Linked DNA regions of Homo sapiens: region 1 is linked to region 2. Evidence: promoter capture Hi-C in human tissues and cell types (Jung and others, 2019). All regions are on one chromosome and are shown on one strand. Each heading gives the region's core, a stretch centred on a gene start or on the middle of the fragment in contact. The rest is flanking DNA. Distances are from core to core; before and after follow the strand shown. Region 1 overlaps LOC105370286 (a long non-coding RNA gene). Region 2 holds the start of SLITRK1 (SLIT and NTRK like family member 1).

Region 1 (3,889 bases), core at 447-2,946, 130 kb after region 2:
AAGTTTCATGAAGTTCTCGTGCTGTGTTTTTCAGCTCCATCAAGTCATTGATGTTTTTCTCTAAACTGGTTATTCCAGTTAGCAGTTCCTGTAACCTTTTATCAAGGTTCTTAGCTTCCTTGCTTTGGGTTAGAACATGCTTCTTTAGCTCAGAGGAGTTTGTTATTACCCACCTTCTGAAGCCTACTTCTGTCAATTCATCAAACTCATTCTCTGTCCAGTTTTGTTCCCTTGCTGGCTAGTTGTGAGCCTTTGGAGGAGAAGAGGCATTCTGGATTTATCTACCTTTGGTCTTTGATGTTGGTGACCTTCCAATGGGGTTTTTGCGTGGTCATCGTTTTTGTTGAGGTTGATGCTACTGCTTTCTGTTTTTTAGTTTTCCTTCTAACAGTCAGGCCCCTCTTCTGCAGGTCTGCTGGAGTTTGCTGGAGGTCCACTCCAGACCTTGTTTGCCTGGGTATCACCAGCAGAAACTGAAGAATAGCAAAGTTTGCTGCCTGCTTCTTCCTCTGGAAGCTTTGTCCCAGAGGGGCGCCTGCCAGATGCCAGCTGGAGCTCTCTTGTTTGAGGTGTCTGTTGACCCCTGCTGGGAGATGTCTCCCAGTCAGGAGGCAAAGGGGTCAGGGACCCACCTGAGGAGGCAGTCTGTCCCTTAGCAGAGCTTGAGCACTGTGCTGGAAGATCTGCTGCTCTCTTCAGAGCCGGCAGGAATGTTGAAGTCTGCTGAAGTTGTGCCCGCAGCTGCCTGTTCCCCCAGGTGCTCTGTCCTAGGGATATGGGATTTTATTTATATGCCCCTAACTGGGGCTGCTGCCTTTCTTTCAGAGATGCCCCACCCAGAGAGGAGGAATCTAGAGATGTAGTCTGGGTATAGCAGTTTTGGGGCACTGCGATGGGCCCCACCCAGTCCAAACTTGCCAGTGGCTTTGTTAACACTGTGAGGGAAAAACTGCCTACTCAAGCCTCAGTAATTGAGGATGCCCTCCCCCCACCAAGTTCAAGACTCCCAGGTCAACTTCAGAGTGCTGTGCTAGCAGCGAGAATTTCAAGCCAGTGGATCTTAGCTTGCTGGGCTCCATGGGAGTCGGATCCACTGAGCAAGACCACTTGGCTCTCTGGCTTCAGTCCCGTTTCCGGGGGAGTGAATGGTTCTGTCTCATTGGCATTGCAGGTGCCACTGGGGTACAAAAAAAACCTCCTGCAGCTAGCTTGGTGTCTGCCTAAACAGCTGCCCAGTTTTGTGGTTGAAACCCAGGGCCCTGGTGGCATTGGCACCCAAGGGAATCCTCTGGTCTGCGGTTTGTGAAGACTGTGGGAAAAGCATAGTATCTGGGCCGGAGTGCACTGTTCCTCACAGCACAGTTTCTCACGGCTTCCCTCGGCTAGGGGAGGGAGTTCCCTGACCCCTTGCACTTCCCAGGTAAGGCAACGCCCTATCCTGCTTCAGCTTGCCCTCCGTGGGCTGCACTCACTGTCTAACCAGTCCCAATGAGATGAACTGGTTACCTCAGTTAGGAATGCAGGAAACACCCACCTTCTGTGTTGGTCTCGCTGGGAGCTGCAGAACGGAGCTGTTGCTGTTGGGCCATATTGCCTGGGGATCTTGTTTTTCTTTTATTCTTCGACTTAGCAAAAGGACTCATTGTTTATTTGATTTATGAATAAATGAGAAAGTTATTTTCTTTCCTGAGAAATACTGAAGCTGTATATAATTGACATCATGAGATTGCTATTCACTCCCATTGTAATAAAGTTAGATGACTTCTGTGGCTCTCAGCTCTGAATGCAGGAAAGGAAAAACCTACTCCAAACATTTATATAAAAATATCTGGGTGTAGAGAAGACTAAGAATTGATGAGTTAAAAAAAAAAAAAAAACTCAGGCGACTCTAATGGACAGCTAGGGTACAGAATCACAAATGTAGATGACCTTGTATCTATCTAAATGCAAGGTTTATATTGTACACATTTACAAATTAGGCCAAGACATCAATGCGCTAGGTGATGGTGAAGCATACTAATCATGTGGCTAATGTGGGTCTATTTCTTGGGTACTTGTTCTATTGGACAAAAACATTAGAGATTTTTCAGAGTTCAGAACTTCCTTTGATAAACTGTTCTCATGGTCAGATTTCAGCATGATTTTCTGAATTAACTGTGTCATTTGAATCCCTTCTACAAAATCTTTCATAGATATTTATCTAAACTTTATTTGAATAAGCCACTTTGTGTTTCCCCTGTGACTGTGACACAGTCTATACCTATTAATGGATTGTTTTAATTCTAATCAATTTCCTTACTTGGACTGATTAAATATCAACTTCCCTAAGATTTGTCCTGGTCCTTCACACATGAAATCAATCTGCTTTCTTCTACCTGGATGCCAATGAAGTATTTGAAGATGGTTAGAAATATTTACTTGTTCAAACTATATTACTCAATTTATCTTGTAATATGTTATTTGCTTTTTTGCATTACTCTAGTTTGTAATAACTCTAAAGTGCAGTGCTGGGATTACAAGGGTTTCACAGATAAGCTTCCTTAGCTGGACCCTAAATTTATTTATTTAGGCTTAAATCTTGAGGGTGTTTACTATTTTAGAGGCACAGTGAACTAGGAAACATTAAAATAAAATCATATATATCTGAGTTAATTTTTTTCTTGCTAGATATTACCCCTGCCTCTTCACTCATTCTATATTTTTATTATGTTTTAAGTCAAAACACAGACATTGCATTTATTATGGCTAAATTTCAGGTTGTTTGTTTCATCAGAACTTTGAAATATAGTTGTGCTACTGTAGAAAGAAAGTCATTTATTGAGAAAGCAAAATGCAGAGTTTTTTTCAGTCATTTAGGCACTAACTGTGATTTCTCATTCTAGAAGAATATGTGGCTTTGCTGATGCAGAATTTAGCTCAAGACTTCTATAAATTTATGAAAAAAAAGCATATTGACTGATAAGTTAAGACAAATGTCAAAGTTCTATGCATAAAAAGTTAGAATTACAGCACAAGTTGCCTTTTTAGGGCCCCAGTATACTCTACCTTGTTTAGGCATTGCGCTACAGGCAACTACGTTCCCTTATTAAGGATTATATGGCTACATCTGTTTTGCCACAGTTGAAAAGTTATTTCTGTTGTGATTGTCTATCCTCGGATAACGAATTGGAAATGCAATTTGTGTAGCATGTGAGTAAATCCACGCACGTGTGTGTATGCACGTGTGTAAGTATATGCCCCTTTGTTTTATTTTGTGTCTTTTCCTCTTAATTCAGCTTATATGAAAAGCTACACTCATTAAGTGTGATTTTTTTTTTTCCCCCTGCTCTGGCTGATCTGTGTCATCAGCAACCAAAATAACCTTATCAAAGACGTTAATAATAATGTGGAAGCCAAAGATGGGACTTTGTAGCATACCAAACATACCATACTTATGACAGCTTTCAAAACCTCCTACTTCCAGTTTCAAACAATCTGCTACTCAACATTCCTGGGACATAATTTTTCAAATAATTGTAAAGCAAAGTAACTGCAGTATAATTCATATAAATCTCTCAATTTTGCCATAATATATGATGAGAAACTTTAAAAAATGCATTGATAGGCTAAAAATATATCTGAATACTTTATTGATATAGTAGAAATATTAGGTTAATTTTCTTTATTGAAAGAGAATTGTAAAGTACTTTAACATATATGTGGCTATTTGGTAAGATATTGTCATTCTAATCCCCTAACTGTCCAAGTAACTTTGTCTAATCTCAGTGAGTATCTTAATGAGCTATGAAATCATCATTCATAGAAATGATCATACTTAATTACTAAATGGCTATTTTTGCAAATCCTAGTGTAGTCCTCTGGTGGATAAAGTGGATCTAAGTGAAACAGA
Region 2 (4,046 bases), core at 1,101-3,600:
TCTTCATATAGGCGGTATAATCTTAATCTTTTCTTCTCAGGTTTAGTTGCTCATCTGAGAACTACCACACTTTTTTCTTAGAGTGCAGAGATAAGAAATTATTTGAAGAGGATATAATTTAAAAAATTTTGTAAGATACCTAAATAGGAGAATCCTAACTGTAAATTTTCTATTGTGATTGGTGTGTTAAGAGGAAAGAAGAAATAAGGGATGAGAGAAAGATACAGAATTTAAAGGGTGAAGAGGAGAATGAAATCTGAATACAAACTGTAGGTTATCTAAATTCATTTAAATCAACTTAAATATGTTCTTGGAGTCTCTTCACATAAAGATAATATTCTGTAAGTTGAAAAAAAATGTAACCTTTTAAGGTTAAAAATGTGGGTTTTAGATGATTGTCCTTTCTAAACAGCCAGCATTTTTCTGTTTTCCTTGAGTCTTGCCTAACCCTATTAATCACAGACACCATAAGGCTGATTTCCTTTCTCAGAGTGGTTTCTTGGGCCAAGATATTTTAGACCTGAGTCCTATTTAAGAAGAAACAGAAAAATGATTTCCTTCAGTTGAACTCCTCCACATCTGCAGTTCTCAACTGCATAGCATTTCTTTAGCATAATGGTTTCAAATTGATTAAGGTCTTTTTTTTTCACTCTCTACATGTGGTAATGGGTCAAATTAAATGAGAACAGAGTTATTTCAGAAGTGTATCAGGATGTCTAAAAAAGATCTCTCTAGTGTACACACGTGCACACACACAAACACACACATGCATGCACATACACACACACACTGAAATGTCTTCATCCCCACCTCCCTTCACTGAATTTCACCAGAGGAATACAACAAAAATATTTTGTCATATGAAAACATTGTATATAGATATGAAATTTTCTCCACCCACCTAGAAATTAGATTCTGACCCAGAAAAAAAAATCTTGTAAACATCTTTAAGACCTTCCCTAGCCTTGGGAATTTTCCCAACCCCAGTCCTTTCCCCCAAATTTTTACTCCCCATCTTTCTCAAAATACACACTTCCTTGAACATTTGCTCTTTTGCACAAAATATTAGCAAGCTCGTTGCAGCTGTCCAACTTGCAAAAGACCTAATTAAAAAGGCAAGTGGTGTAAACATATCCTCTCTGCATAGAGTGAAGAAAGGGCCAAACAGTAACTCTATTTAAAAGACCTAAAAATTTCAAATCCTAAAATGATCTATAAATATTTTAGGACGTATTGATGTGAAAAGGTGTCGACTCTGAAAGGAAAAGTCAGCAAAAGAGGCTTCACGGAAGCAGCATGTTCACGTTTTCTTCCATCCCAGAAGGTGATATTACTGGATTTTTATAAGCTCAGAGTTTGGAATCTGTTGTTTCCTTAACTGGAAAAAGCCTGAGCTTCGTGTTTCCCCAGCATCAGTGACCCAACAAGCATCTGCGCGAAGAGGAGCTGCCGGCTACCTGCAGAGAGCGTTCTCGCTGAGCTTTAGAGTCCAGAGATTTCTATCTCCTCCTCTCAAAATGCAACTGGTTATTTACTTGTAAACATTTAAATTAGTTCAAACTGATGTGAAAACTTTGTCAGTGGGGTGTGTGTGTGTGTGTGCGTGCGTGTAGTGTGCGCGCGCCTGCCTGCCAGTGGGTTTTTAACAGCACTCACAAATCATCTTGGGATTTTTCCCTGCCCCCTCTCCCTTCTTTTCCGGTTCTCAGTTAAAGCTTTCGGGACTGGAATCAAGGACTTCAGCATGCATTGTGTTTCACCCTCCAGAGTTAAATAACATTCAAGAAATATCAAAGAACCTAACTCTCAATGACCAAATTGACTAAATTTCTGCAAGTTTTAAAAAGTATATGCCTAATTTATATACCTTGCAAAAAAATTCATACTCAATTATGATATTATGTAACATATATGTTCCGAAAGCCACTTTGAACATACCAAAAGAAATGTTTCAAAGACATCAAATAGCGTAAAACACTGTGCCGCAGAGAAGGAAGAAATGCATTTAAAGAACCGATGAAAATGGCGTGCAGTATAATTACCTCAAATTGCTGTTCGCTTGACACCCTGACACTAATTTTATTCAAGCCATTGGGAAATAAATGTTTTAAAAGCACTCCTTTCCGAATGGTGGAGCTGGTGGGGGCTGTGAACTCGTTAAGGAAAGGAAAGGGTAAAGTTTCCAGCACGCAAAAATAATCAAATAATCCATTTAAAATAAGCATCTATGTAGATCGTCAGCCTTTTATGCCCACATTTTTAACGCTTGCCCTGTACGTGGATTGATTTTTTTTTCTTTCAGCATTCCCTAGCCAGATGGATTTTTGCTACTGCAGATCAGCAGAGGGTGTCAGATCTTTCAGAGTGCACCAGGCTGGAACGAGCAGAGCTTCTTAGCAACTCTCTTCTCCGCCCCCCTCCCCTCATTCTCGCGCTCTCTTCCTCCCTCAGACAACTCGCCCCCCGCCCTCCGCCCCCCTCCACGTAATTCCGAAAGAGCAGAAGAAAGAGAAGGAGAACAGGAAAAGAAGAGCTAGTAAGCGAGAGCGAGAGCACAGAAAAGAAAAAAAAAAGCCTTAAGAGGACCGAAGGGGAGGAAAGGAAAAGGATGGACAACCACAAAACGCAGCGATTGCGGAAATTTTCCAGCGCCATTGGCTGGGCAGCGTGAGTCCTTCGGTCGGGCGTGATTTCAGCACCGGGGGAACTGGACAGCACCTCGGGGGGACTTCTGGGCAACCCGCAACCACAGCAAGAACTCCACCAGCAGCCTCAACAACAGAAGCCGCGGAAAACCCTGCTTTGTATCAGAGAGGCAAGGTCAGTCCGACGCACAGCCATGCACAGGCAGTGCGCCTGTACTACGCTGCAAACCCTCTGCTTGTTTCTCTAACATGCACTTGCTTCTAATTACTAGCATTGTTTCATTTCTGATCAGTGAAGATCAGTAGATGAGATTCTGTAAGGGTGTACTTTTAATTTATATGTATATATTTAACTTCTTTTTCTGTTATTTTTAAAGTGTTGTGGGGGAGTGGGGTTTTTTTCCTACTTTTTTTTTTTTTTTTTTTTCTTTGCTTGCCTTGCACTACGTGCCTGGATAGTTTGTGGATATAATTATTGACTGGCGTCTGGGCTATTGCAGTGCGGGGGGGTTAGGGAGGAAGGAATCCACCCCCACCCCCCCAAACCCTTTTCTTCTCCTTTCCTGGCTTCGGACATTGGAGCACTAAATGAACTTGAATTGTGTCTGTGGCGAGCAGGATGGTCGCTGTTACTTTGTGATGAGATCGGGGATGAATTGCTCGCTTTAAAAATGCTGCTTTGGATTCTGTTGCTGGAGACGTCTCTTTGTTTTGCCGCTGGAAACGTTACAGGGGACGTTTGCAAAGAGAAGATCTGTTCCTGCAATGAGATAGAAGGGGACCTACACGTAGACTGTGAAAAAAAGGGCTTCACAAGTCTGCAGCGTTTCACTGCCCCGACTTCCCAGTTTTACCATTTATTTCTGCATGGCAATTCCCTCACTCGACTTTTCCCTAATGAGTTCGCTAACTTTTATAATGCGGTTAGTTTGCACATGGAAAACAATGGCTTGCATGAAATCGTTCCGGGGGCTTTTCTGGGGCTGCAGCTGGTGAAAAGGCTGCACATCAACAACAACAAGATCAAGTCTTTTCGAAAGCAGACTTTTCTGGGGCTGGACGATCTGGAATATCTCCAGGCTGATTTTAATTTATTACGAGATATAGACCCGGGGGCCTTCCAGGACTTGAACAAGCTGGAGGTGCTCATTTTAAATGACAATCTCATCAGCACCCTACCTGCCAACGTGTTCCAGTATGTGCCCATCACCCACCTCGACCTCCGGGGTAACAGGCTGAAAACGCTGCCCTATGAGGAGGTCTTGGAGCAAATCCCTGGTATTGCGGAGATCCTGCTAGAGGATAACCCTTGGGACTGCACCTGTGATCTGCTCTCCCTGAAAGAATGGCTGGAAAACATTCCCAAGAATGCCCTGATCGGCCGAGTGGTCTGCGAAGCCC

Evidence for each region. The method cuts DNA at HindIII sites, captures the fragments that hold promoters and counts their contacts. A contact is called where the count stands out against the background at its distance.
Region 1: a contact is called between a fragment that was not itself captured here and the fragment with the promoter of SLITRK1 in region 2, in 2 of the 25 tissues and cell types used here (dorsolateral prefrontal cortex and lymphoblastoid cells).

Annotation. Positions count from the first base shown.
Region 1 is chr13:83,751,841-83,755,729 of GRCh38, reverse strand. The region is part of intron 3 of LOC105370286 (a long non-coding RNA gene); the gene reads left to right. Among named protein-coding and RNA genes, the nearest start is that of SLITRK1, 130 kb to the left of the region's middle. The HindIII fragment of the contact is 5,057 bases long and covers 1-3,889 here.
Region 2 is chr13:83,880,778-83,884,823 of GRCh38, reverse strand. SLITRK1 (SLIT and NTRK like family member 1) reads left to right here and starts at 2,350. Exons shown (of 2, transcript NM_001281503.2): 1 at 2,350-2,820; 2 at 3,264-4,046. The coding sequence starts at 3,317. The HindIII fragment of the contact is 12,657 bases long and covers 376-4,046 here.